Linked DNA regions of Homo sapiens: all the other regions are linked to region 1. The links are contacts of gene promoters, found by promoter capture Hi-C in human tissues and cell types (Jung and others, 2019). All regions are on one chromosome and are shown on one strand. Each heading gives the region's core, a stretch centred on a gene start or on the middle of the fragment in contact. The rest is flanking DNA. Distances are from core to core; before and after follow the strand shown.

The links. Contacts are between HindIII fragments. The study calls those that stand out against the background at their distance.
Region 2: a fragment that was not itself captured here is called in contact with the fragment with the promoter of PAIP2 in region 1 in 3 of the 25 tissues and cell types used here (IMR-90 fibroblasts, dorsolateral prefrontal cortex and lymphoblastoid cells).
Region 3: a contact is called between a fragment that was not itself captured here and the fragment with the promoter of PAIP2 in region 1, in 1 of the 25 tissues and cell types used here (hippocampus).
Region 4: a fragment that was not itself captured here is called in contact with the fragment with the promoter of PAIP2 in region 1 in 3 of the 25 tissues and cell types used here (aorta, heart left ventricle and hippocampus).
Region 5: a fragment that was not itself captured here is called in contact with the fragment with the promoter of PAIP2 in region 1 in 2 of the 25 tissues and cell types used here (adrenal gland and hippocampus).
Region 6: a contact is called between a fragment that was not itself captured here and the fragment with the promoter of PAIP2 in region 1, in 1 of the 25 tissues and cell types used here (dorsolateral prefrontal cortex).
Region 7: a fragment that was not itself captured here is called in contact with the fragment with the promoter of PAIP2 in region 1 in 1 of the 25 tissues and cell types used here (dorsolateral prefrontal cortex).

Annotation. Positions count from the first base shown.
Region 1 is chr5:139,340,537-139,343,152 of GRCh38, forward strand. PAIP2 (poly(A) binding protein interacting protein 2) reads left to right here and starts at 1,318. Exons shown (of 4, transcript NM_016480.5): 1 at 1,318-1,444. The HindIII fragment of the contact is 8,924 bases long and covers 1-2,616 here.
Region 2 is chr5:138,847,855-138,850,470 of GRCh38, forward strand. All of the region lies in intron 7 of CTNNA1 (catenin alpha 1), which reads left to right. Among named protein-coding and RNA genes, the nearest start is that of LRRTM2, 26 kb to the right of the region's middle. The HindIII fragment of the contact is 5,446 bases long and covers 1-2,616 here.
Region 3 is chr5:138,867,675-138,870,290 of GRCh38, forward strand. The region is part of intron 7 of CTNNA1 (catenin alpha 1); the gene reads left to right. It overlaps LRRTM2 (leucine rich repeat transmembrane neuronal 2), which reads right to left. Exons shown (of 2, transcript NM_015564.3): 2 at 1,247-2,616. Among named protein-coding and RNA genes, the nearest start is that of LRRTM2, 6.4 kb to the right of the region's middle. The HindIII fragment of the contact is 6,536 bases long and covers 1-2,616 here.
Region 4 is chr5:138,885,018-138,887,633 of GRCh38, forward strand. CTNNA1 (catenin alpha 1) reads left to right here. Exons shown (of 18, transcript NM_001903.5): 8 at 1,195-1,275; 9 at 2,473-2,616. Among named protein-coding and RNA genes, the nearest start is that of LRRTM2, 11 kb to the left of the region's middle. The HindIII fragment of the contact is 4,201 bases long and covers 1-2,616 here.
Region 5 is chr5:138,902,786-138,905,401 of GRCh38, forward strand. CTNNA1 (catenin alpha 1) reads left to right here. Exons shown (of 18, transcript NM_001903.5): 10 at 1,564-1,656. Among named protein-coding and RNA genes, the nearest start is that of LRRTM2, 29 kb to the left of the region's middle. The HindIII fragment of the contact is 6,719 bases long and covers 1-2,616 here.
Region 6 is chr5:138,922,490-138,925,105 of GRCh38, forward strand. CTNNA1 (catenin alpha 1) reads left to right here. Exons shown (of 18, transcript NM_001903.5): 12 at 2,021-2,221. Among named protein-coding and RNA genes, the nearest start is that of LRRTM2, 48 kb to the left of the region's middle. The HindIII fragment of the contact is 9,713 bases long and covers 1-2,616 here.
Region 7 is chr5:138,943,143-138,945,758 of GRCh38, forward strand. No RefSeq gene overlaps it. Among named protein-coding and RNA genes, the nearest start is that of LRRTM2, 69 kb to the left of the region's middle. RefSeq lists a silencer at 1,055-1,267. The HindIII fragment of the contact is 6,636 bases long and covers 1-2,616 here.

The sequences.
Region 1 (2,616 bases), core at 68-2,567:
TTGTCTTAGTAAATACTACAAGCATATAGTTTTTAAAAGATTCAAATTTTTCAGGAGAAAAGGATAGTTATTTGCACCCATTTCCTAGTCGGTCATTTGCCCTCTCCAAAGGGAAGAAATTAGTTTGTGTCCCTTTTTCAAAGATAGTATCTACACATTTGAACATCCAGATTTGTAAAACACATACTCTCGGCCGGGTGCGGTGGCTCACACCTGTAATCCTAGCACTTTGAGAGGCGGAGGCGGGTGGATCACGAGGTCAGGAGATCGAGACCATCCTGGCCAACACGGTGAAACCCCTATCTCTACTAAAAGTACAAAAATTGGCCGGGTGTGCTGGCGTGCGCCTGTAGTCCCAGCTACTTGGGAGGCTGTGGCAGGAGAATCTCTTGAACCCGGGAGGCGGAGGTTGCAGTGAGCCGAGATGGCGCCACTGCACTCCAGCCTGGGCAAGAGAGCCAGACTCCGCCTCAAAAAAACAAAACAAAACAAAAAAACAAAAACATACTCTCTTCTTTACATTGCTTAGTGTCACTAGAAATATATCTTGGGGCTTGTCAACGATGACAGGAAGGAAGCATGGGTAAGAATAACTATGGGGCCAGTGCACCCAGGATCACGGACTACAAAATTCTTGAACCCGGAGGTCACACTTTTCTATCCTGTGTGGACAGGGCATTTCCTCCTTTAGCCACAAAGAAGTTGCACATGTATTTGTATTTTGCGTTTGCATCCAGCTTCAAAAAGTGTGTTTTTGTGCCTGCACATGTCTGAGTGCGGATGTTTGCATATCATTTAGTACGCCTCTGTGATTTCCCTTAGTTTATTATTTTTCTGTGTCAGGATCTTGACGTGACTCGGTGCATGTCGCTGTTTGTGTGACATTGTGTATCATTCTTGGGGTGTGTATGGGTATGTGTGTGCTATGTCATTACCTAAATATTACGTTTTTGGGGGGGTGTGTGATGTCTGTGAAAGTCCACGCCTGTGTATCTTGTCAGGGTGCTCTTCAGTCCCCAGCTGCCTCACTCATTGCATATCATCATTCTCGGAAGATGGGCGGGTGTGGGAACAGTGGTACGCCCCCATTCCTGCCTTCCAGAGAGAACGTGCGACAGCGTTCCTGCTACACCCGGCAGCCGGCCGTAGGGGCGCGCTGGAAAGGCTGCTGCGCGTGCACACGTGTGCAGCCTTGGAGACAGACTTCGGGGTCGCGCGTTCTCGCGCGCGCTCTCTAGTGGCTTCGGAGGGCAGAGCTGACAGAACAAGAGGGCGGGGTTGGCGGCGACGGAAGTGAAGTCACTTCCGGGCTGGGGTGTTTGTTTGGACTGGAGAAGGGAGGCGGCGGGCGAAGCGCACGTCGAGCGGGGGAGCGGCGCTGCCTGTGGAGATCCGCGGAGGCCGACAGGATTCGTTGGCTGCCGTCCCCGCTGCTGTGCATTGGGTGAGGGGTCCTCTCGGGCAGAGTGGCGACAGGGGTGCGGAGGTCGAGGGACAGCAAGTCGGCGACGGCAGAGGGGCCTAAAGGGTTCCCTGGGTGGTTGGCCACCGAGTCCATTGCGGCCTCCGTTGTTCATTGCCTCTTTCCACCAAGTCTGAGGGATGAGCTTGGGCCGACTTCGTCTCTGTCTTCTCCGAGACATGGCCGTCGCTTTTTTTTCATTGTCATTATTAATGATTTGGATCTCGCAGCTCTCTATCCGGGTCCTCAGTGGCGCGAGGGTTGCCGGGATAGCACTTTCTCCTGTTCCTCATTCTCCCGGTCCTTTATCCCTCCGCCGGGTACCCTTTCCCCTGCCCCCCTCCCACCGCCTCGGCAACAAAGCTTATTGTTTCTACCCACTTTACGCCTGCGCGTCGCCACGCGCAGCCCCTACTTGCTGCGCGTGCGCGCCTCAGCCGAGGCTGGGGTTTGGGGAGAGAGGGGCGGAGGGACTGGCGGGCTCTTGGCGTCTTGGGGGAACGCTGCAACCGTCGACGGGCCTGATCAGAAGATCGTCTTTCTCCCGTTTCTTCGCCATCGCTACCCCTTATTTTTGGTTGTATTGCAGCTCATGCCCTGGAAAAAAGAACCTTTGGGGTACTGGGAACCCTTACCCTAGGAGGGCGTTGAGTTAGATGAACTTTAAGGTCCTCTTACCTTTTAATAATTTTCTGTGCTTACTCTCCTCCTTCCCCACCATCGCCACCAGAAATAAATAAGGCTTGTGGTGAACTTAGGTCTTCAAAACATTTGTTGCAGCAGCCAGCAGTGATATTTTTTAGGGACTCCTAAAAGGGGTCTTACCTGCTTCCTTTTGTTTCTTTTTTCCCTGATTTGGCACCCGTATCAACTCATAAAAACCCCAAACTCTAGAAAGAATTTGGCTTCCAATTTGCCTTGGAAGGTGTAGCAGCTGACAGCCTTTGACGTTTATTTCAACGGAAAGTAGATGTTCATGTTGGGTGTGCTGGCTAATGTTGAAACGTGGTGGCATTGTTTTTTCACAGATTTCATTAGCACAGTTAGATCAGGTGTTGGTTTATATTTTCATTAAGTCGCTTTTGAAATTTCTTCTGGCGTAGGTTGTGTTTGCAATAAGTAAAAGTTCTCTACAATAATTTTTAATGAGACTC
Region 2 (2,616 bases), core at 56-2,555, 490 kb before region 1:
TGGTACTGAGTAAAAGCTGAAAGTAGCAGAGATTGTATAGGCCAGTATATCTTTTGTTAGTTTTGAACTTGTTGGGAGCACTTATAATTACCTGTGTTTCTAGAGATAAATCAAGTGGCACCTCTGTTTCTTTAAGTTCTTCTTTACCTAGCTGAGATTCAGGGGTCTTGCTTCTTGGGTAATAAATTCTACCTAATTTGAAGCTTTGCTTTCCTTCCAGAGATGTTTGAACTACATTTACTAATGCATATATGCTGTTGGCATAAAGATAAATTTGTTATTGAAGGGATTTTCTATGGAGAGACTGTTCTAGTCTTGACAGCTGCACTGAGCATGAAAAGTTACCTAAGCTTTCCCAAGTCTATGTTTCCTCAACTGGGAACTGGGGATGATAATGGTGCCTATGCACCCATCATGGTTGCAAGTGTATAGAAAAGAGTCATGTAAGGCACAACCACTGCTGTTAATACTAGTGTTACTATTAACATTGCTATAACTAATAATTTATATTTGAATTGTTCACACTTTAAGTCCTCTTTTTTTTGTTTGTTTGTTTTTTTAGCTCTTCTGATTTCCAGTAGTTTCATAGAGCCATTGCATTTATCATTCTCCTCCAAGAGCTTAGTTCTCTCTCTGCTCCCCCTTTTCTTCTCTCTTCTTTTACAGTCATGGTCAAATACATTTGGAGAATTTTCCCTTTTACATGTGTATTCTGATAATAATGTCTAAAGACTGTGTCCCTGTTGACTGTGCTGCATAGCTTATTTTATTGCTCTCCATTTGTCTTAACTGTCTTGCCTGAAGTTGGTAGCTTTATTCCTAGATTCATAATATGCTCTCTTTACTATTAAAATGTGCATTTTGATTGGGCCTGGCATACTTTTTTTTGAGATAGAGTCTCTCTCTGTCGCCCAGGCTGGAGTGCAGTGGCGTGAGCTTGGTTCACTGCAACCTCCACTTCCTGGGTTCAAGTGATTTCCTGCCTCAGCCTCCTGAGTAGCTGGGATTACAGGTATGCACCATCATACCCAGCTAATTTTTGTATTTTTAGTAGAGACAAGGTTTCACCATGTTGGTCAGACTGGTCTCGAACTCCTGACCTCATGATATGCCTGCCTCGGCCTCCCAAATTGCTGGGATTACAGGCGTGAGCCACCTTGCCCTGCCTGGCATACTTCTTTATTGTTAATTCTGAGTTATCTGGCATGGGGAAGCATGGCTCTGATCGTCAGTGTTCATTCTCTGAATTGAGTTTTGTATAGGCATCTCTGTATAAAATTTCTTGATTATTCTTTCCTACTGGTTTTGGCTTTATTTGGTGATTGCATTTGAAGTAGACTGTTTATTTGAATACTGTAACTATTCATGTAGTTTCATGTTCATTTTTTATAAGTTGTATTTCCTCTCTATTTTTTTTTAAAATTAGCACTAGAGGAAAAAGCTATTATGAATAGGGTTTTGTTGTTTTTGTTTTAACAAACCCACTATCTCATTGTTTAAGAGAATTTACACACCCTAGAACTGGTTGAATAATTAACCAAAAACAGTAAACCTAGGCATAGCCTATGTATTTAAAAAACAAAAACAAAAACAAAGACGGTAGGACAGGCAGTGTGAGGTCTAGAAGTTCTCTTTCCCTTTCATGTTATAACATTCTCTGTCTTTAGAGCTCTTAAACCTCTGAAGAGAAAAATCTTATTAGGAAAATCTTTATAGTTAAGCAGGGCTGACTTTGAAGTGAGGCACGTGCGCTGGCTGGTATCATCACTCCACTTCAGGAGATGTGAACAGTTGCCATCAGATGTTATCTATGAACTTACTCATTGGATTAATGGTTATTTGCTTCAGAAAACTAAAGAGTAATAGGAGAGCAATTCATTTGCTGGCTTTCATAGGGTTCTTGTTTTGAAAAAGGTCTGTTGTTGAACTGAGATCCTTACAGTTGCATTTCCTTATACCTGATAAAAAGTTTTTTTTTTTAATTCTTAAAATAGGCAGTGCATTTACATGGCTTAAAGGGGTCTAAAAGAGTATCTAATGAGCATTGCCTCTCATCCCTGTTACCTAGCCATTCAGTTTCTCTTCTTACAGTTTCTTGTGTATCTTCCAGAAATATTTTTTGTAGATACAATAAAACACACACACACACACACTCTCTCTCTTAAGATTTTTGTGTCTTTTGACTTATATGGAAAGTTATTATACTTGATTGTGAAATAGGTTTTACTATGATAATTTGCTGACCTACACTTATTTTGTTTTTTTCCTCTAAAACAATGTTTTCCTAATGTTTATTTACTTTGCTCTTATGGCTACCCAGTCTGATTCCACATGCCCTCTTTTGGCCAAACCATCCGCAATTTGTGCTCTCCCTGTCTTCTATCTTTGCCTTCCTTCTTCTTTCTTAGATATTTAATCCTGGATGCCTCTATTTCTATTCACTGTACTATGGCATCAGCTTATAGTCCCTTAATTGCAATGAACTCTATGAAGCTCACATGTCTAGAATATAATCACTTTGGCTTCTTTCATGTTTGAATTGTTTTTCAACCAAGTCAGATCGAGTGGCCTTAGTCTAGGTGCTCTGTTATTGACTGTTCTGTATAATGTTGAGGA
Region 3 (2,616 bases), core at 37-2,536, 470 kb before region 1:
GGATGAAGGCCTTTATGGTGATCCAGTTCCACTTAATGATAAATGTATTTTCTCTTATGATTTTCTTTCTTTCTTTTTTTTTTTTTCTTTTTTTTTAAGATGGAGTCTCACTCTGTCACCCAGACTGGAGTGCAGTGGCATGATCTCAGCTCACTGCAACCTCCACCTCCGGGTTCAAGCAATCCTCCTGCCTCAGCCTCCCGAGTAGCTGGGATTACAGGCGCATACCAGGTTGCCTGGCTAATTTTTGTGTTTTTAGTAGAGACAGGGTTTCGCCTTATTGGCCAGACTGGTCTCAAACTCTTGACCGCAGGTGATCCACCCACCTCAGCCTCCCAAAGTACTGGGATTACTGGCGTGAGCCACCATGCCCCACCATGATTTTCTTAATAACATTTTCTTTTCTCCAGCTTATTTTTGTAAGAATACCATATATCATACATATAACATATAAAATATGTATTATTTTGACTGACGGTATTAAATATGTGTTATCTAATATGGACTGACCGTTTATGTTATCAGTAATGCTTCTAGTCAGCAGTAGCTATTAATAAAAATTTTTGGGAAGTCAAAAGTTATGCAGATTTTCGACTGTGTGGAGCAGGGGGTTGGCACCCCTAACCCCAGTGTTGTTCAAGGGTCAATTGTAGTTTAAAATCTTCCCTTCCTTTTCCCATCTGTACTCACTGAGTCGTCATCCAGGGTGGAGGAGGTCATGTAGGGATCTTCATGGTCCTAGTGTGTAAGCACCTGTGGGACCTCCCTCCTAGGAGTGGCATGGAAGGTGCTGCTGGGATGGACATCAACCAACCCCCAAGGTAGAGGCCAAGTCGCTGTTGGCTAGATACAGGCAATTGGTACCTTTCCGAAGCTCTCTGTGGTGTTAGTTCACTGTAATGGAGGATTCAGAGAGGGGCAGCCAACTCCATGCCCTGTGAGCCTGGGACAGTTGTTTGTCCACTTGCTCAGGCTCTTGACAGAGCAGCTTCTTACTGCATGACAGCTTTTTAGGCACTCTCCCTTCTCACCACTTTACCTTTACTTTCTTCTTATCCTAGTTTTACCTCTCTCTGAAGACAGGTAATGATTAGCTGCCCCTTTTTTCAGTGGACACATTTGACATTGTAGAGGAACATGGAATAAAACAACTGTTCATTTAAGATTTCTATGTCTGTCACAAATGGCTTTTCAAGTTTCACATGTCAAAATTGATAGGTTATCAAGGAAAAGTAAAAAGAAGGCATTCACTTTTTACAGTATACACAATTTTAATAACAAAACTTGCCTGTACACTGCTCTTTATGTTACCCTCCCCCCTCCCAAAACACCCTGCATAATAGTATTTTCTTCCCACCCTCAACCCATCTGCCCACCTCCCACCCAAAAAGAAAAATGGCTCTTGAAGGTGATTGAACACAATGTATTTGGACTGTACTTTGAGTTTCCAGTCTCAGTGTTGATAGGAAGGTTCACCAAACATTCCATATATCAGACTTAAAAAAAAAAAAAAAAACCGCTAAGGACAAAAATGTTAGTTGAAAGAGTTGCAGAGGTTTCCAAATGTTTGCAATAGCAGAATGAAAGCTTAAACAGTAATTTTCTATTTGTTTTTGGCCTTATTCAAGTACTATGAGTTTGCCCCAGGTTAGATAGAGAAATATTTAATTATCTATAGATGGCCTTACTGTCTCTCTCTCTTTTTTTTTTTTTTTCCTGGCTCAAGGGCTTTAGTCAATAAGATATGAAAAGTATGCCCCCAAACAGACTTTTCAGATAGGTCTGTCGCTGTATTCCTGTATTAGGAAAACGATCATGTAAGTCAGCTGTTAAAAATATTCTTTAACAAATTTTATATTGATATCCACACTTCAGAAAAAGAACAGGACATTTATAGCTTTTTCCCCTGATAGCTGTGTGTAGGAAGTGTGCCTTAAGAAAATGAAATGCCTGTTTTGAATTTTAGAATTCAAACCTAGTGCTACATAGGGCTCATTTTTATTGGAAAGATGGAGTCTAGCTCTTGGTGACTAGCATTAGAATAAGCAGATGGATTTTAATAATTAGTGGCGTTGGGAAGTTCAGTCAATTCCATTTATTGAATTGATACAGAAATTAACTTAGGCACATTAAGAAATTACATGTGTTAGTACAGATTTTTGGCTTAAAAAATTAGTATCTTTGCTTTTTGATGCTGGCAGTGGGTATTCTCAGAGTTGTGTGTGGATTTACAAGTTTATCAGCCCACTCTTTTCAGAAAGGTGATTGAAATCCCTGTCATGCTACAGAAATGAATATAAACGATTTCAAACTAGTTCTTGGTTTCTAGATGGGTATGGTATCATAGTCTTCTTTAGCTTTCCTTTTTCCAGAGAGATTAATTATTTTTCTGGTTCTTAATGGTCATTTTCCTCTAATCTTAAAAATAGAAAAAAAATGGAGTGGGTAGTGGTGGTGAAGAGGATAAAACCCCATCAAAAAACAAAAGCTCTGACACTGTGTAACCAAGATCCGCAGCGTTGCTGTGATGCTGTTCCGTTCTAGCCAGTTGGTAAAGAAAGCACAGATGACTAACAGTCTAATCTTCAAACCTGTGCTGATTCTGAAACACAAATG
Region 4 (2,616 bases), core at 117-2,616, 460 kb before region 1:
TATTTCAACTCTTACTATTCCCTGTTGTCTCCTTTCTGCCCTTTGCTAAATAACCTATATCCCTCAATATTTCTAACAGTCCATAGAGAGATAGGTGGCATTTTCCACAATTGACAGGTAAGGGATAAGAGATAAAGTGAATAACAAATGTACATTAAAGGCACTTAGTAAACAGATCTCCCCATTCCTAACCATTCATCTGCTCTACTGGCTTGTGTACTAAGAGCATACCCATACCAAAATGTCTTGAGGGCATCCAAAGGGAGAACAATGGGCTAAATTCCTTTGTTCATTTGTATCTCTCCTATTATTTGCTGACATGTTTTTCAGAAAGAACCGTATTTGTTTTGCGAAAACAAGCTTTTAATATACTTTATATATACTTTATAGTTTAACCTACATGATGTAGGCATTTCCAGGGACACAACAATCTCCACCTGGGATTTAAAAAAAGACTTTTGTTCCTTTTCTTTCAACTGCTATTTTATTCCATTTGATTCTGCTTAGAATGTTACCCTGGCAAATCTCGACTCAGCACCTTGACCTCTGAAGACATGCTGTTTTACATACCACTTCAAGAGTGACTAGCGGGTTCTTTTCTGTGCAATATAACTGCATTAAAGCTTAGTCTAGGATTTTTTTAAAGTGACCAAAGTAATCCTACAAAGCATTATGATTTGAGCTGCATAATAAACATTATTAGCTCTGACCTATCAGGTACATCTTAGTTTTTAAATTTGTTGTTTCACATTGTTTCAGTGCCAGGTCCCATTTTTCACATCTTGACATTCTTCAGATCTCAGAGTTCATCAAAATCAGGTGTACCCTGTTCTTGCTGCAGTTCAAGGAGAGCTGCTTCATTAATAAAATTGGTGTATGCTGAACCTTGAGTTAAAATATAAATTTAATTTTTAAAAGCCAAACTTTAAGCAAAGCTCTTTGTCTCTTGGCTTCTCTTATTTTGGCAAAACTCCCTCAATTCCAGTCATCAGATAATGTGGAGCCCAAGAATTGTAAGGTTGGGTTTTTATGAATAAAGCCACATAACACCCCTCTGCTCCCCAGTATTTTCCAACTTTGAGTTTAAGAAGTTGTACTGCTTTTTCAGTGTTGACATGAGCACAAATGGCTATAGGCTATCATTAGGTTTCTTTGTAAATGAATAAAATGCTCATCTCTTTTCCTTTTATCCAGGCTGGACGTAAAGAAAGAAGTGATGCACTCAATTCTGCAATAGATAAAATGACCAAGAAGACCAGGGACTTGCGTAGACAGGTAATCTGGATGAAAGTGCTGATTGTTTTTCTAAGTTCTCAATTTTGTAGTTTTGATTAAAATCCTAATAAGCACTGGCCTTATATTTTTTTATTGAGAGAAAGGATGGATTTTCACAAGAAAGTGCCTATCTTTGTTTTGTTGCTAATATGCTTCTTAATGGCTAATCAAATTTCATGAAGACATGGGATAATACAGTCTCACTGTGTTGGACTGAATAAGTTAGCTCTAGTGTGAAAGGCATGTACAGGTAGGAAAATAAATTTAAAATGACTTGGAGACCTGTGAAAATAATCCTGAAGGATCTTGTTGTATTGACTATGTACAATAGAGACAGAAATTTCAGTTGTTTATCTGACTTGCCCTATACTCATTACACACTTGCAGTTCCCTTAGATCCATGGTGAAATGTTTCCAGTTCCAAATATGGTAGGTATAGAGATATTTGAGGTGCTGAATTTTCTGAGTTAGTAAATACAGAGTAGAGAAATCGAACCTTTTAATGATAAATGACCCCATTAACATTTGGAGTCAAATTGAGTTTTAGTCTTTAAAGAAGTTAGAGTTGATTTTATAAAGCAATGTATTAAGACTTAAGAAGTTGTAATACAGACAATTTTTAAGAGGTAATGGACAGATATTTTATTGCTTATGTCTGATATAAAACAAAATTAAAGATAAAATATATCTTTATTCAATTTCCTTTTGGTGAAGCAGTATCAGAAATGGTTATAAAGAGAACCTTAAGTTTTAAGGTTCATAGTGTGTGAATCCTTTCAGATAAGCCAGATAACTCTTTTTTCTCTCTTCTCTTTTTATTTAGCCAATTAGGCTAATTATATATATATTCCAAGGCTATGTGCCAGTTCAACCCAGAGCTGCTTTCAGTTCAGCTTTTGTATTATTTAAGTTGTAAGCCCTAGTTTTGTAATTCCCAAGAAAAAAGGATATTGTCTTAAGAACTGAGATTCTGTTGCTGAAATGCTGTAACTGTAGTAATGTAAACCATTGTCTCCATGATCATGTTTCCTGTGTTGTAGATTATGTAACTGCATGGCTTACATGAGGGGTCCTCATGTAAGTGCAGCAAGTCTACCGTAAGCTTCATTAGATTTAAGTGTACAAGAGAATAAAAAGCAATCTATTTAATACCTTTTTGGTAGAAATAAAATCAAATTTTTACAATTTAATCATTAGCTCCGCAAAGCTGTCATGGACCACGTTTCAGATTCTTTCCTGGAAACCAATGTTCCACTTTTGGTATTGATTGAAGCTGCAAAGAATGGAAATGAGAAAGAAGTTAAGGAGTATGCCCAAGTTTTCCGTGAACATGCCAACAAA
Region 5 (2,616 bases), core at 70-2,569, 440 kb before region 1:
TTGTTCAAAATGTCGTCTTAAGGCAGTGAAGCAATAGAAGTTGTAGATTACTCTTCATGAACACATCTAATTCAAGCTTTCTCCTTCAATGAATATTTGTTTCCTTTTTTTTTAAGTCTTACATTTTACAAAATTTATCTTAGGTCATATTTTGCAGTGATTTTTTAAGCAAACAAATAGAAATCCCCAGTCATCTCTGTAGATTTGTCATCCTGAAAAGAAATGTCTCTCTGCTTGGGTCCAGATGACAGAGAAGGTGGAACTGTAAGTGTCAGGGAGTATAAGTGTTGCTTCTTTATGTGACTTTGAAGGACTCATAAACATCAGAGATCTGACTTTCCAGTTCCTTTACATTTTTATGTTTAAATTGCACGTTAACTTCTTTTGTTTCTCCTTGTGTTTGGGCATTGCAGGATTCTGATAGTTAGCAGTCTTATAGAAAGCTGATAATCCTTAACTGTAGCACTACAAACAACTGCCGTAATAGTGTATAATTTTTCTGATGTGTTTATGTGCTTAAGTTGGGCGGAGGAGTGAAAATCAAAGGTTATTGCCATTGCCCTTGTTTACTCTAGCATTTAAATTCCCAGAAAGTGCCTCTGATATTCAACTGCCTACGCCTTTATCATTCATAACTCAGTTTGCAACTGGGGTAAAGATGTGTCTCAGTACCGTGTATTCAGTTGGGCCCAGATATTGCTAATGGAATTGGCAAGCCTGTTCATTTAGAAATATGGATAAGTGATCACAGCCTTAGCAGTCACTACGCAGTAACATTCCAGAGCTTCAGCAAAGGAAGTATGACACAACCTGGAAAGATTGTTCCTGGCCACGTGAGCTGTATCATTGAGATGGCTGGACGGGAAGGTAAAGATTTCGGTTCAAATTAAGCCGCATCAGCCAGGAGAGATTCAAGCTGTCAGTGTTTTTGAGAACCCAGTTGAAGGGCAGTTTTGCTTTTAACTATGAAACATAACCAGTTTCCTTTTCCACTTTTGATCATGATTGCCTTTGGTCCATCTTGATGTTGTCTTCATGTTATTTTTTTTTGTTTGAAAAATTGTCTGGTGTTCAAATAAAATTCATCTTGCCTTAAATTAAGCATCTATTCCCTGTCAAATGAGCATAGCACCTTAGAGTTTTTTATTTCCTTCCTTCAAGAACACTGCAAAACACATTTTTGAGGATAACAACAGTTCTTTCCTGATGCCCTTGATTCTTCAGCTTTTCTCACCTTATTGCCCATACTAGAAGAACCTTTTTCTGAAGTTACTGTTCAGGCGGGTTAGAGGCCATGCAAAGCATGTGAGTTACAGGCCCTGGGATCTTTCAAGGTTTTGCCACCAACCTGCAATGTGATGTATGTTATGAGTCTGTATAGTTTGCTTTGTGTAGAGTTAAAAATGTGTCCTCATCTAAGTAAATAATCAGGCTGTGAGAAGGGAGGCACCCTTGGTGCCCTTGTCATCTGTTCCAGAATGGTCAGAGGTAGGGCCAGGTGTGTGTTTTTTCCTTAGCAGTCAAAAGAGAAAAATCTTTAAAGATTATTTTTTATGTTTATAGGTTGCCAACTTGGCCTGTTCCATCTCAAATAATGAAGAAGGTGTAAAGCTTGTTCGAATGTCTGCAAGCCAGTTAGAAGCCCTCTGTCCTCAGGTAAAGTACAACTGACACTGGTGACAGCATAACCAAATTAAATTTTGATTCAAGTGGAGATGAGGTTTATTTTGTTAAGTTTTGTTTTGTTTTTAGGATTTTAGATGGAAGTCTTGGGGACAGATCACTGACACAGAACCCACATAGTTTGGAATATTTTTTGTTTAACATTAAGTGACATTTGCACGGGAGATTACATGTTACTCCTGGCCCTTCATTGAAAATGCACAGTGGGCTGGGCACGGTGGCTCACGCCTGTAATCGCAGCACTTTGGGATCCCAAAGTGGATGGGTCAGTTGAGCCCAGGAATCTGAGACCAGCCTGGGCAACATAGCAAAACACCATCTCTTAAAAAAAAAATACATATTTTGGCCGGGCACAGTGGCTCACGTCTGTAATCCCAGCACTTTGGGAGGCCGAGGCGGGCGGATCACGAGGTCAGGAGATCGAGACCATCCTGGCTAAAACGGTGAAACCCCGTCTCTACTAAAAAAAAAAAAAATTAGGTGGGTGTGGTGGCAGGTGCCTGTAGTGCCAGCTACTCGGGAGGCTGAGGCAGCAGAATGGCGTGAACCTGGGAGGCGGAGCTTGCAGTGAGCTGAGATCGCACCACTACACTCCAGCCTGGGCGACAGAGCAAGACTCCGTCTCAAAAAAAAAAAAAAAAAAATACATACATACATACATAAATACAAAAATTAGCCCAACATGATGGCGTGCACCTGTAGTCCCAGCCACTCAGGAGGCTATGGTGGGAGGCTGGCTTGAGCCTGGGAGGCAAAGGTTGCAGTGAGCCGAGATCACACCACTGCACTCCAGCCTTGGTGACAGAGTGAGACCTTGTCTTGGTGGGTTGAGGAAGGTATGGTGCCTTCCATTGCTGGAAAATACAGGGTGGCAGTGACCACAGTCTCCTTGAGGGAGAGTCTACACCCTCCTTGAGGGCCATTTGTGACATC
Region 6 (2,616 bases), core at 117-2,616, 420 kb before region 1:
ATTTTGTATGGACTGTTATATGTATGTGTATGAATTTTTTTCTATTAGAAGCACACCTATAAATAATGTATTGAACAGTTGTTCATGGGTACAGATTGTTGTGTCTACTCATAGTGGACCTATGCTGTTTCCTTAGCTAAAATGATGTATGGTTTCAGTTAAGTGTGGGCAGAGCCTGTCCCCCTCTGTTGAACAGTGGACTCGCACCTCCCCCCATCAGGTTCAGTTGTGGAGAGCAGGCTGGGTGCTCTGTCCTGGGTGTGTGGTAGCCTCAGCGAGGCTGGGGCTTTCCTAGAGACAAGTGTTTCATGAGGGTAGAGAATATTACTTTGGTCAGCTTCCTGAAGTGGGGAATATTACTCTAAAAAATGGCACACTCTTTCCTGGTTTAGGTTCATCTAGAAGGCGGCCAGGATGAATTCAAGAAAGTCTAAATGGATTAAAAAAAAAAAAAACCGTAGAAGTATCTAGACAAAGGTTAAAAAATCCTTGGTGGAAGTTTGGGTCACTTTTGAACGGAAAGGAATGCCATACTTCATTGATTCTGAAATAGGGATGAGTCTTAAAATCAATGATATGAGAAAACACTGGTTCTTAGTTTTGCTATCAACATGATTTCTTTCAATTGTATTCCTTTCCTTTCCTTAGCAATGCAAGTTTCATCTTAACGGTATTGTGTTAGATCCAGTAAAGCAGCAGTTTTTAACCCAAGACCTCGTATGGTAGTCCTGCTCAGTACATTTGTTTAGCTTGAATTATTAGAGTTTATATATTTTAAAAATGCTTGTGATGGGCTCCAAATCCATTTATTCTTGTAATTGGTTTAAATATCCCTCTTAAAATGTGTTTATGTTAGAAGTTTAATATGTTTACTCTTTTCATTAGTTCAGTGGTATAAACCCTGGCAAGTCTCATAATTTGTAATTAATAGAGACCAAAATATGGTCTTAACTATATTGCAGTAATCTAGTTTTCCCTTCTCTAATAAGAATTCTTACTGTTTCCTGGCCTTCCCTGGAAAGGTGTTTTTTGTTTGTTTTGGCTTTTGTTTTTGAGACAGAGTCTCACTCTGTTGCCCAGGCTGGAATGCAGTGGCGCGATCTTGGCTCACTGCAACCTCTGCCTCCTGGGTTCAAGCCATCCTCCCGCCTCAGCCTCTAGATCTGTATCATCCACTTTAATGGCTGCATAGTTCCCATAATTCATTTATCCACCCTTCTCTTGGAGATTTTGGTTGCTTTCACGTTGTTACTACAGATGAGTTCGAGCAAACCCTTTGTGGTGGGGTTCCTAAAAATTTATAGTGTCAGGCTTTTTGCTTTGAGGAAAAATAGTTTTGGTGTGTTGCCCAAATTCAGCTGTATGACTGTTAGGAGCCACCCATCAGCTTCATAGGAGTCAGGGGTTTTCACCTCTAGGGACCCTTCAAATATCACAATAAGCCCATCTGTGTACCATGAAGAGGGTTATTAAATAGTTCATCTCACACCTCAGGGTCCTCTAGAGGAGGCTTCAACCTGCTTTCCAGCACCTTCTCCTATCCCAGGGCTGTACTGGCTTCTTGGTAGATTGTCTGAATATCATCAGCATCTCCTGGAAGGAGAGGGAGAGGGGACAGTGGACTTTTGTTCTAATTTAGCCTTTCCTTTATTTGGGACATAGAGTCAGTGAAGCTAGAGGAAGATAAGTTATTGATGCTTCTATGATAATTTTCTGCCAGAAAATTACAGAACAGCTGTGTCTCAAAGATGGGCATGTCTCCTGTTTTTTTTGTGTGTGTTTTTTATTTTTTGTTTTTTTTTTTTTAAAAACCTGGAATGAAGATTGTTATTCTTGGGGGTGATAACAGGTTTAGTTTCTGTCTCTGTCACTAGTCACTGGTCTCTCCAATGAAGTATATGTAAAACTTTCAGCACTGTGGCTGGCACCAAGCAAACAATAAATGATAGATGCCAGCTTACAGTTGCCACCTTTTCATAGAAAGCCTCCTTCCTCATTCAACTTTTTGCTTGTTCTCCAGAGAATCACATTTTGGAAGATGTGAACAAATGTGTCATTGCTCTCCAAGAGAAGGATGTGGATGGCCTGGACCGCACAGCTGGTGCAATTCGAGGCCGGGCAGCCCGGGTCATTCACGTAGTCACCTCAGAGATGGACAACTATGAGCCAGGAGTCTACACAGAGAAGGTTCTGGAAGCCACTAAGCTGCTCTCCAACACAGGTACGGGAACTCTCCCTTTCCAGTGCTCGCACACACCGCAGCCTCAGTGAGGCAGGCCACCCCATTAGCCCAGCCCTGTGGTGAGGAAGGAGGAGTTGGGAACTCAGATTTGGTCTCATGGCACATCGGGCTCCTGAGAAGCTGGTCATAGCCAAATTCAGGCCTCACAAGCATATTTTCTTCATCTGTATCTCATGAGTAATCACGGGACTAATTCTAAACACACGATTTAAGATGAATTTCTGAGTTAAATCTCCTATTAGTGAGTAAAGACTAAATTAAGGTAGGTCCCATTCTTAAGCAAGGCTTCAAGTTAGTCTCACTTCAAGTTCTCAACCATCCAATCTCTGTTGCAGAGAAAAAGATGATTTGAGTCGTAAAATACTGCATTTAAT
Region 7 (2,616 bases), core at 31-2,530, 400 kb before region 1:
GTCTGCACACTTCTCACAGTCCTATGTCTTCACCCTGCCCCACATCCTTGTCCAGCTGCCCCCTGGATGCTGCCCTGGGCTCCCTGCCCCTCCTGGCCCCTGTGTCATCTATTCTCACCACAACAGTAAGAAAAGGTGAGGCCGGGCACAGGGGCTCACACCTGTAATCCCAGCACTTTGGGAGGTTGAGGCAGCAGGATCGCTTGAGCCCAGGAGCTCAAGACAAGCCTGGAAAACATAGGGAGACCTCTACAAAAAAATGAAAAAAATTAGCTGGGCGTGACAGCTTGCACCTGTGGTCCCAGCTACTTTGGAGGCTGAGGTGGGAGGACCACTTGAGCCTAGCAGGTCAAGGCTGCAGTGAGCCATGGTCACACCACTGCATTCTAGCCTGAGTGACAGAACAAGACCCTGTCTCAAAAAGAAAAAGGTGGGTTACATCAGGTCTCTCCTCTGCACCCAACTCTCAACAGCCCCACCTCAAAGAAAATCCCAGGTCCCTTCCACAGCCTCCCCAGGCGGCCCTCCCTTGCAACTCCTCCCTCGGTCTCTGCCTGCTCCAGGCCTGGTTCTCATGGCTTTTCCTGAAGTGCTTTGGCCTGTTCCTGCAGGACCTTTGCCTCTGCTATCCCCTTGTCTACAAAGCACCCCCATGGCTCACTGCTGCGCTCCTGTGCCTGGCCCCTCCTCAGAGGCCTTCCCCACCACTGAGGGGAAACAGCAGTGCCTACCCCTCTTCCCTTCCCACTGGGCTCTGTCTTCCTTGCCTGGCCCTCCCCTGAAGCATGTGTATTTATCATGGTCCAGCCCTCTCCCCTCCTGTCCTACCACTTCCTGCCCTAGAACAGTGCCTGGCTCGTAGTACCCAACCAGATTTGTTGAACAAATGAATGAATAAGCAGCAGCCCAGAGAACACCTGCTAGGATGAGGGCACAGCCCTTGGCAGGGCTGACAAGCTGCCGGAGGACCCGAAATTGTGGATTCTGCAAATGGCCACTCTCTGGCCTTCCTGTATCTTCCCAGGGCCAGAGCCCTTGCCCTGCCTGCCCCAGACTGGCCCTTCCAACTGCCCATCCCTGACTGCTACTCCTGCAGCCTGCAGGGCTTAGCCTGGCCATCACCAGCTCTGGGAGGCCTTTCCTTGGCTTCACCCAGCTCAGCAGACTTCTCAGCTCCAACTGCCTGACACACACGACTGCTCAACAGCCACAGTGTGAATGAAATAATGAATGAACAAGTGAACTCATAAAACCACAGCTGCTGAGGGATGGGGTGAGGACCTAGGCCCACCACCCTCCCTGCCATCCTCCCACACTAGGGCCCGGGTCAGCCCAGCCCAGGAGCAGGGACCCAATAATCACTGAGGGCCTGTGGGTGTCAGCCCAGCACACCTCTCAGCCCATCCCAAGACAGTGAGGACAGGAAAGCAGGCTCCAGCCCCACAGGAGGAAGTCCCACCTCCCCCGTCACCACTCCCTGCCTCACTTCGAGCCCCGGTCACACTCCTTGACCACAGTTCCCAGGATGGCAGCCAAAGGGAAGGCAGAGAAGGGGTTCCTTCCTGACCTGCAGACAACAAGCCGCGATGAATCAGGAGGCGGAGCCAGAACCCACCCCCAAGCAGCCCAAGCCCAGACCCTGGGGCGCCTCGCCACCCTCTCCCTGGAGGGTCTGCTTAACAGTCCAGAACGAACCTGGATGCGGCCAATGAGGAGAGAGACTGCAGCCCAACTCCCATTCCGATGCTCTGAGTGTGTGAGGGCAGAGTGCACGCAGTCCCACCTCCCAGGCCTCGGGCTCAGCAGCCTGGCGCTGGTCCAGCCCCCTCCCTACAGCCCCCAGGTGCCCGTTCCTCCATCCTCGCTCCCAGAAATCCTCTCAAGAGCACCTGGCCCAAAGCCTCCCTCTGCTTTACAGAATCGCTGCTGAGGGCAGCACACCTGGGGGCAGAGGGGACACTGGGGACTGCAGTTAGGCCCCTACTAGTGGCACTCCTCCCATAGGGACGCTTTCCACACCCCGGGCCAGACCCTGGTGGTCACAGAGGCCTCCAGGGCCAGCCTGGTCCTGACACAGCCGAGCGCCCGGCCTGGCCTCCCCACAAGGCCCCACACTCTCGCCTGTCCACTGTTCCCACTGTCCAGCCTTGGTGCTCACCTCTGAATGCTGAAAGCCTAGAATAGATTCATCCCCAGCCCAGCCCCAAGTCCTCCTGTCTTCCAAGCCTCTGCTGAGGCAGCCCCTCTCCCCATCAAACCTCACCTTGCCCCTTTCTCAAGTCTACGCTAGATCTTCCAACACTACCTCTAAAGCACCCCTTGACCTTGGCCTCATCCAGGCGCTGGCACCTCCTGTCTGAAACCTGCCTGCCCTGTTGTGGCCACACATGCCCGGCCATTTCTCGTGGTCCTCCCTCCGCTGCCTGTCAGTTCAACATCGTCCCCTTCTTGGCCTCCCATTCAAGCCTCCCACAGCACCATCAGCACCGCAGGCCCACTGCTGCCCCCACAGGCAGATCACTTGGCCTCTCTGAGCCATGATTTCCTCATCTGTAAAATCTACTTCGAAGACTCCTGCGAGGCTGTAAAGGCAGCAGGTACCCAATGGCTGGCAGA